Regions from separate parts of the Homo sapiens genome. Here all the other regions are linked to region 3. Evidence: promoter capture Hi-C in human tissues and cell types (Jung and others, 2019). All regions are on one chromosome and are shown on one strand. Each heading gives the region's core, a stretch centred on a gene start or on the middle of the fragment in contact. The rest is flanking DNA. Distances are from core to core; before and after follow the strand shown. Region 1 holds the start of C5AR2 (complement C5a receptor 2). Region 2 holds the start of NAPA (NSF attachment protein alpha). Region 3 holds the start of EMP3 (epithelial membrane protein 3 (MAM blood group)).

Region 1 (3,019 bases), core at 273-2,772, 990 kb after region 3:
TGAGGCAGGAGAATGGCGTGAACCCAGGAGGCGGAGGTTGCAGTGAGCCGAGATCGCACCACTGCACTCCAGCCTGAGCAAGACTCCATCTCAAAAAAAAAAAAAAAAAAAAGGAGTCTGAACATTCTTTATTCCTGAACATCCATCTTCTAGGATTCCTCCCTCACGACCCAGCAATCAGCCTCCTTTCCGCAAAAGAACACATATGCTCACCAGAATACATGTGCCAGAATGTTCACAGCAGCCCAAGATGAGAAACCGTCCAAATAGCCACCCACAGCAGAATGGATAAACACATCATGGGGTGTTCACCCTGTGGAATATTCTACACGATGAGAATGAACAAACACCACACAAGAATGTGGACAGATTTTGTGATAGAACATTGAGGGGGCCAGGCACGGTGATTCACGCCTGTAATCCCAGCACTTTGGGAGGCCAAGGTAGGTGGATCACCTGAGGTCAAAAGTTGGAGACCAGCCTGGCCAACATGGTGAAACCCCATCTCTACTAAAAATACAAAAATTAGCTAGGTGTGGTGGCGTGCACCTGTAATCCCAGCTACTCAGCAGGCTGGGGCAGGAGAATCACTTGAACCTGGGAGGCGGAGGTTGCAGTGAGCCAAGATCGCACCACTGCACTCCAGCCTGGGAGACAGAGTGAGACCCTGTCAAAAGAAAGAAAGAGAGAAAAGGAAAGAAAGAGAAAAGAATTGGAATCGCTGAGTTAAAGGGCTTGCTTGCTACACATGCTACAGTTTGGTGGATCTGCCGAAAGCTGCAGGAATTCCTGCAGGTTTGAGAGAGGCTGTTTCCCATACATCTGTGTGTGAAAAACCATTTGGGCAGGGCACAGTGGCTCACGCCTGTAATCCCAGCACTTTGGGAGGCCAAGGCGGACAGATCACCTGAGGTCGGGAGTTCGAGACCAGCCTGACCAACATGGAGAAACCCCATCTCTACTAAAAATACAAAATTAGCCAGGCATGGTGGCATGCGCTTGTAATCCCAGCTGAGACAAGAGAATCCCTTGAACCTGGGAGGTGGAGGTTGCGGTGAGCCAAGATGGCACCATTGCACTCCAGCCTGGGCAACAAGAATGAAAACCTGTCTCCAAAAAGAGAAAGAAAAAAAATGCTTAGATCCTTTGACAAGAGCTTTGCTGCTGGGCTGCCCAAGTTAATTCAAGAGCCCAGGACTGTGACGTGCGTTCCAGTGTGGCTGTAATAAGACTGCACTTCTCAAACTCTAGTTCTGCTTCCCAGATTCTGAAAGTAATGATTCCGAGAAGCCAAGATCATGCAATCTCTCTCTCCCTCCTTCCCGCCCTTGTAGCCTCCATCCTTACCGTCTCTTCCAAGAGTGTCCCCACGTGAGTCAAACGCCACTTGGGAGCCCAATCCGGGCCCACAGCCAGGACCCAGGAGGTCTGGGGTCTCTCCCTGCCGTGTCTGGCAGCTGGTAGAGTCCTGGAAATCCGTCCTGTTTGCCAGGGCTCCTGTCGGATGCTGCTGAGCACTGCCACCTCACCAGTCCCAGTGAATCTTTATAAGCAGTACAAAATAGGAGTGGCCTTGTCTCGCTCTCAGGGTGTGTTTGTCCTGTCTTCTTCCCGTGACTCACAGAACCCAAAATTACGGGGTGGCTGGCAGGGCAGGAGAGGGCTCGGTTGGGTGGAGGGCTGATCCCAAGTCCCCAACCCTAGTCTCGAAGTCCCACCTTCCTGGAAGCCAGACCTGCATGCGGTTTGCTCTTTAACGCCTTAGAGGTCTTGGCCTGGATTCTGTTTGCCCACAACATGCCAGCTGCCCCCAGCCACCTCCAGGCCTCTAACTGTGTTCAACCCCTCCCTTCTGCAGCCTCAGGACAGACAAACATCCCTCCCTCCTCCTCGGCTCTGAGGAAGACAGCCTGGGGTCACATTCTCCACAAAAAGACCACAGCAGCTGAGCGCAGGGCCCAACGCCTCAGTGGTAGAAAAAGCACAAACAACTCCTTTCTTGGGCCTCAATTTTCCATCTGTAGAATGGGAAGATGTTGTTGGCCATAGCGATGCTTTACTTTTTTTAGAGATGGAGTCTTGCTCTGTCGCTCAGACTGGCGTGCAGTGAAAACATTATGCCTCACTGCAGCCTCAAACTCCTAGGCTCAAGTGATCCTCCCACCTCAGCCTCCTGAGTAGCTAGGACTACAGGCATGCACCAACATACCTGGCTAATTTTTTAAAATTTTCTGTAGAGGTGCGGCCTTGCTGTGTTGCCCAGCCTCAAGCCATCCTCACACCTCGACCTCCCAAAGGGCTGGGATTACAGAAGTGAGCCACAGCCGTGATAGCAATTCTTAACCTCTTCCAGCATATCACAGTGGCTGAGAACAAGAACTCAAGGGCCAGAATGATGAGATTCATATTCCAGGTCGACACACCCTCATCAAAGTTCAGGGCCTCAGCCCCTCTGAACCTCAACTTCCTCATCTGTGCAGTGGATGTTTGCTATGAGCGTTGGATACATTTAAAACGCACAGAACTGGCTGGGCGCGGTAGCTCACATCTGTAATCCCAGCACTTTGGGAGGCCGAGGCAGGTGGATCACTTGAAGTCAAGTGTTCAAGACCAGCCTGGCCAACATGGCAGAACACCATCTCTACTAAAAATACAAAAATTAGCTGGGCGTGGTGGTGCGTGCCTGTAATCCCAGCTACTCGGGAGGCCGAGGCAGGAGAATCATTTGAACCGAGGAGGCGGAGGTTCCAGTGAGCCGAGATCTCACCATTGCACTCCAGCCTGGGCGACAGAGTGAGACTCTGTCTCAAAAAAACAAAAACAAAAAAACCGGAGCAGTGCCTGGCACATAGTATACGCTAGGCTCACGCAACAGCAACAAGACTGTAACGTGAATTCTTAAAGTACACATACCACGCAGGCTTAGCAAGAGGAAGTGGCTCCAACCCCAACTTTGGAACCTCTTTATTCAGCAGTTCTTTCTGTTTGTGCTTTTTTTGTGCGTGCTTTAGGGATTCAA
Region 2 (2,907 bases), core at 396-2,895, 810 kb after region 3:
CTCCACTGTAAATTTAGGCTTTTTCTCCCCTTTCTTGTACCCTCTTCTTTGAAAGGAAGTCACTATGCACAGTCCATACTTACAGAATGGGGAGGTATCCTTCACCTTCTTGAGAGCAGAGTATCTACGCAGATTATTTGGAATTCTTCTGCACAAACTATTTGTCTATTCTCCCCCCTTTATTTATTTGTTCTATATTCATCTATATGACCATAGGCTCATGGATACTTTATGTTTGGGATTATAATCCAATACTACTTTATTTTGATGCTCAAATTGTTCCAGCTTTGGCCATTGGGAGTTCTTTCAGTTGGCTCCTTTGGCATACCCCCTAATTTTGTGTGTGAGCACACGTGTGGAATACTTCCTTCCTTTCTGGCACTACAAAGTTATACTGAGGTGAGCTATGATTGTGCTGCTGCACTCCAGCCTGGGCGACAGACCGAGACCCTGTCTCCAAAACCAACAACCCAAAGAGTGAGACCCTGTCTCAGAAACCAGCAACTCAATTTTCTGGGACAGCAGGAGGTGTGTTTGAGCCTAAACTTTTTTTTTTAGAGACAGAGTCTTGCTATGTTGCCCAAGGCGGGACTTGAACTAGACTCAAACTCCTGGGCCCAAGCGATCCTCTCGCCTCCCGAGTAGCTGGGATTATAGGCACGAGACACCGCGCCCATCTTCGAATCTGAATTTTTTTTTAACACGCTCTCTTCAGCTATTTTTTTTTTTTTTCTGAGACTAAGTCTCACTCTGTCGCCCAGGCTGGAGTGCAGTGGCACGATCTCGGCCCGTTGCAACCTCCACCTCCCCGGTTCAAGCGATTCTCCTCTCTCAGCCTCCTCAGTAGCTGGGATTACAGGAGTGTGCCACCACACCCGGTTAATATTTGTATTTTAGTAGAGCGGGGTTTCGCCATGTTGGCCGGGCTGGTCTCAAACTCATGACCTCAAGTGATCCGCCCGCCTCGGCCTCCCAAAGTGCTGGGATTACAGGCGTAAGCCACCGTGCCCGGCCCTCTTCAGCTATTTTTTATGAAACCAGAGTTAGAGAACCTCTTAAGTTTTTGTTTGCAGTCTCTCTTCACCGGTCTCCCCAAAGCAGTTCTAGTACTGGCCGACAGAGGGAGCAAGAAAAAGCAGAACGGTTTCCTTTTCCCACAAACGCCTTTCCAAGTGAAGAAACCGGCGAGACCAGCCGCGGGGGCGGGACTAAGTTCTGCGCAGAACTGTCAAACCCGGGCGTGGGCCCCGAGCTGTCACGTGAGTGTCTGCGGTCAGCTGACTGTGCCAGAGTTCCGCGGGGAGGGCGAGTGGGGGACCCCCCGCCCCAGCGCGAGCCGAGGGCTCCTGCTGATTGGTGGAGGAGGATCCAGCAGCAACACCGTGGGGCGGGGCCTCGGCGGGGGGTACTGCCATTGCCTTCCACAGGGTCACGTGGGAGGTGAGGTACAGAGCGCTGGGGAGAGAGTGGAGCGCCGTTCGCCGGTATGTGCGCATGCGTTGAGGTCTCTTGACGCCGATTGGGGGGTCACGAGTCACGGGCGGCGTGCGGCGGCTGGTGGGGGCGTGTCCGGCGGAGCGGGCGCGGCGTTACGAGGCCGCTGGTTGGCCAGCGCTAGTCACGTGGTTCCTGGCCGCAAGCGACGCGCGCCGGTGCGACGTCAACGCAGCCGGGCGAGTTTTACCGATCTGTGTTCCGCGGCCCGGCCGCGGCTGAGTCTTCCCAGGGTCAGGGTCAGGCGCTTTGCTGAGTCCCTTTGTGGCCGCCATGGACAATTCCGGGAAGGAAGCGGAGGCGATGGCGCTGTTGGCCGAGGCGGAGCGCAAAGTGAAGAACTCGCAGTCCTTCTTCTCTGGCCTCTTTGGGTGAGAACCGGGCTGAGGGGTCGGCCGGGACCTAGGCTGAGAGGACGAAGGAGTCACGCTCGGAGGTGGCGGGTTAGGGCACGCAGAGCTCGGGCCGAGGGGACGGAGAGGAACCTGCAATAAGGTGACATGGCCTGAGGCGGCAGAGGGGACGCAGGCTGAGGGCCAAGAGCCTGGGCCGGGGCAACACGGTTTGAGGAGAGACGGTCTGACATGGCGGAAGGGATTTGGGCTGAGGACACACGGACCGAGGCGACACTATCTTGAGGCGAGGAAGGGGACCCAGGCCGAAGACAGGCCAGCGGGCGGGGGAGAACCTGGACCGAGGGAGTACGTCCTGAAGCCTTGGAGGGGACCGGCCTGGGGGGACGGAGGGAGTCCGGGAGAGAAGCCAGGTCCAGAGGCTTTTCGGAGCTCTAGGGGAGTCTGTTTGAAGGCTCTCAGGCGGCAGTGATGGGGCCTGGGGCTGAGGACGCCTGCCCGAGGGACTGACCTTTTCAACCCCTGGAGCAGTGGATTTGCGTGGGCCCTGGGCGGTGAGGGTGAAGGCTGAAGGGGGCTGACACCAGGCAGAGGGGCTCAGGGCTAGATGATCCTAGGAGCGGTGAGCCGCGTCTGAAGTGTGGGGGGTGCATGGGGTGAGTACGGCCCTGGTTAGCAGTGACTAGTTTAAGGACAGCTGAACGGAGGAACCCGGGATGATGGAGTCAAGACTGTGGAGGTCTCAGCACTTTGGGAGGCCGAGGTGGGCAGATTATCTGAGGCGGGGAGTTCGAGACCAGCCTGGACAACATGGTGAAACCCCGTCTCTACTAAAAATACAAAAGTTATCTGGGCCTGGTGGCGGGTACCTGTAATCCCAGCTACTCGGGAGGCTGGGGCAGGAGAATCACTTGAACCCGGAGGTAGAGGTTGCAGTGAGCCGAGATCGAGCCACTGCACTACAGCCTGGGGGACAGAGCGAGACTCTGTCTCAAAAAAAAAAAAAAAAAAAAAGAAAGAAAGAAAGAAAAAAGCCTGAGGAGGCCTGGGTTGAGGCTGG
Region 3 (2,809 bases), core at 1-2,500:
TCAAGAGGTTGGCACAGGCCAGGCACACTCACGCCTATAACCCCAGCACTTTGGGAGGCCGAGGCGGGAGGATCACCTGAGGTCAGGAGATCGAGACCAGCCTGGCCAACATGGTGAAACCCCATCTCTACTAAAAATACAAAATTAGCTGGGTGTGGTGGTGCACACCTGTAATCCCAGCTACTCGGGAGGCTGAGGCAGGAGAATCACTGGAATCCAGGAGGCAAAGGTTGCAATGAGCCAAGATCATGCCATTGCACTCCAGCCTGGGTGACAGAGAAAGACTCCGTCTCAAAAAAAAAAAAAAATTTGGCATAAAGGCAGGTGAGATGTCTCCTGATGGAGGAAGGGCATGGGTGCAGACTCCTGGGTCTCTCAGGGAGGAGACCGCTGGGGCCTGGATTCCTGAGATCCCCATTGGCTGGAGGGGTGGAGAGGGCCAAAGATGGACTCTTGGGTTCCTTGAATGAGGAGGACTAGCAATGTGGCTCCTCTCTCCCCAGAACCCTGACTCTGGGTTACATACAGGCCAGATAGTGAAAATTCAAGTTGAGACCCCACCCTGCACCCCGACATCAGGATTGAGGAGCTGCCCCCAGCAACAGGCATTCTTGACTCACACCACTCCTCTCCTGGGTTGAGGGGAGGAGGGGGACCTGGTGAGTCATCTGGTGACTCATCCCCACCCCCCCCCATCTCTAAGCACCAGGGAAACCCCAGCCCCTGGCTATGTCCACGAGGTCCTCACCCCACCCTGCTGCCAGACTGGTGACTGTTGGACATCTTCTGGAGGAAATGGATAGGATTCGCGCTGGGGGGAAGAGAGGCCCAAGAAGGAGTTAGCCTCCCAGGACTCTTTGGTGCCCAGGAACAGGGGACCTAGAGGTCTCCCAGATTTGGGGTGTTCTCATGCAATGCCCTGATCTCAGGGACCCCAGAGGACAGTGGACACCGCTGAGGGAAAAACTGCAGGAAGTTTTCCAGTGGAGGGCTCTGCTGGGACCCCAAAACTTTGCCGGGCCCCACCCCTTCCCATATCCCCACCTCAAGTGCTAAGAGATCACTTATTAAATTAAAAGGATTTCCAAGAGTCAGGGACGTCTCTCCCAGCCTGGGGGTGTCCTTCCCAAACTGCTACATTCCCAAGTAAATTAAGAAGTCCCAGCCCTGAATAACGGACTGGAAACTTACCGAGAGCCGCGAAAAAAGTCAGAGCTGGAGTCGGAGTCTTGTCCCTCGCTCGGGCCTCCGTGCCCCGCCCTTCTCCTCCCTCCTTTCACCCTCCCGAGGCCCCCGCCTCTCTCACCGCCTTCCTCCCTCCCTTGCTCTCCCCTCCAATCCAGAACCCTTTCTCTCTCGCTCGCTCTCCTTCTGCGTCTCTTCTCTCCCTCCTGCCCTCACTGTCTGGGCCTCCTTCTCTCTTGCTCCCGTTTCTCTTTCTCTCCTCCTCTCAATATATACTGACCCTTTTATAAACCCACCCTCACCGCACCCAGCTGAGGTCGGCTGCCAGTGGGAGGGCCCAGGCACTCCGGTTCCTCTTTCTTTGGGCCCCCACCCAATCCCTCCAGACAGACATCATCTGGGGCTCCCTCCCAGGGTTGAGATGAGAAACTCTTGGAATGGGGTTCTTGGGGGGGGCAAGCGTCAGGGGTGGGAGGGCCCGATTCTCAGGACCCTTGAGTTTTGAGGTCTTGCCCTGGGGCCGGATGTCTGCTTTCCCTGATGGAGCTTGGAGCTGGATAGGAGTCTGGGAAAAGAGGCCAGATTTCTGTGGCATGGACTTGAGATTGGGCTGGTGAAGTTGGCCCCGTGGTGGGGGGTCAGAGGATGGGAGATGAAATTTGTGAAACTCGGCAGGGCGTTGTGGCTCACGCCTGTAATCCCAGCACTTTGGGAGGCCGAGACGGGCAGATCATCTGAGGTCAGGAGTTCGAGACCAGCCTGGCCAACATGGTGGAAACCCGTCTCTATCAAAAATACAAAAATTAGCCGGGCGTGGTGGCGGGCGACTGTAATCCCAGCTACTTGGGAGGCTGAGCCATGAGAATCGCTTGAACGCGAGAGGTGGAGGCTGCAGTGAGTTGAGTTTGCACCACTGCCTTCCAACCTGGGGGACAAAGTGAGATTCTGTCGCAAAAAAAAAACAAAACAAAACAAAAAACAAACAAACAAAAAAAAAAACCTTGTGAAACTCTGGAAGCGGGGAGGAAGCGGAAGCTAAGAATCCCAGCGCCATCATTTCCTGGTTCAGTGACCTTGAGCCAATTATTTCACCCACCTGGGCTCCAGTATCTTAGTCTATGTTGAGAGTATAATAATGCTGACAAAATACTAATACTGATAATAATAATTCTGATACTTATGCTGAATGAATAAGGTAATACTGGCACACTCACACACCTAACCTGTTCCTTCCTTCATCAAACATTTATTGAACATGTACTCTGATCTGGGAGTTAATAATGAAAACAGACATGAGCCCTGCTGGTATTATGGAGCTTGTATTCTAGTAGAGGAAGACAGACAAGAGAAAACATCAATGATGAAGATAAATCTCAGATAAGGATAAGTGACTTGAAAAATAAATACAATAGGCTGGACGTGGTGGCTCATGCCTGTAATCTCAGCACTTTGGGAGGCCAAGGCTGGAGGATCACCTGAGGTCGAGAGTTCAAGACCAGCCTGGCCAACATGGTGAAACCCTGTCTCTACTAAAAATACAAAAATTAGCCAGGCATGGTAGTGGGCGCCTGTAACCCAGCTACTCAGGAGGCTGAGACAGGAGAATTGCTTGAACCCGGGAGGC

Evidence for each region. The method cuts DNA at HindIII sites, captures the fragments that hold promoters and counts their contacts. A contact is called where the count stands out against the background at its distance.
Region 1: a contact is called between the fragment with the promoter of C5AR2 here and the fragment with the promoter of EMP3 in region 3, in 1 of the 25 tissues and cell types used here (dorsolateral prefrontal cortex).
Region 2: a contact is called between the fragment with the promoter of NAPA here and the fragment with the promoter of EMP3 in region 3, in 1 of the 25 tissues and cell types used here (dorsolateral prefrontal cortex).

What each region holds. Positions count from the first base shown.
Region 1 is chr19:47,330,678-47,333,696 of GRCh38, reverse strand. C5AR2 (complement C5a receptor 2) reads right to left here and starts at 1,522. Exons shown (of 2, transcript NM_001271749.2): 1 at 1,348-1,522. The HindIII fragment of the contact is 20,876 bases long and covers 1-3,019 here.
Region 2 is chr19:47,513,801-47,516,707 of GRCh38, reverse strand. It overlaps NAPA (NSF attachment protein alpha), which reads left to right and starts at 1,645. Exons shown (of 11, transcript NM_003827.4): 1 at 1,645-1,865. The coding sequence starts at 1,768. RefSeq lists an enhancer at 997-1,266 and a silencer at 1,357-1,696. The HindIII fragment of the contact is 27,973 bases long and covers 1-2,907 here.
Region 3 is chr19:48,323,993-48,326,801 of GRCh38, reverse strand. It overlaps EMP3 (epithelial membrane protein 3 (MAM blood group)), which reads right to left and starts at 1,250. Exons shown (of 5, transcript NM_001425.3): 1 at 1,192-1,250. RefSeq lists enhancers at 367-436, 727-776, 1,377-1,426 and a silencer at 2,004-2,235. The HindIII fragment of the contact is 22,631 bases long and covers 1-2,809 here.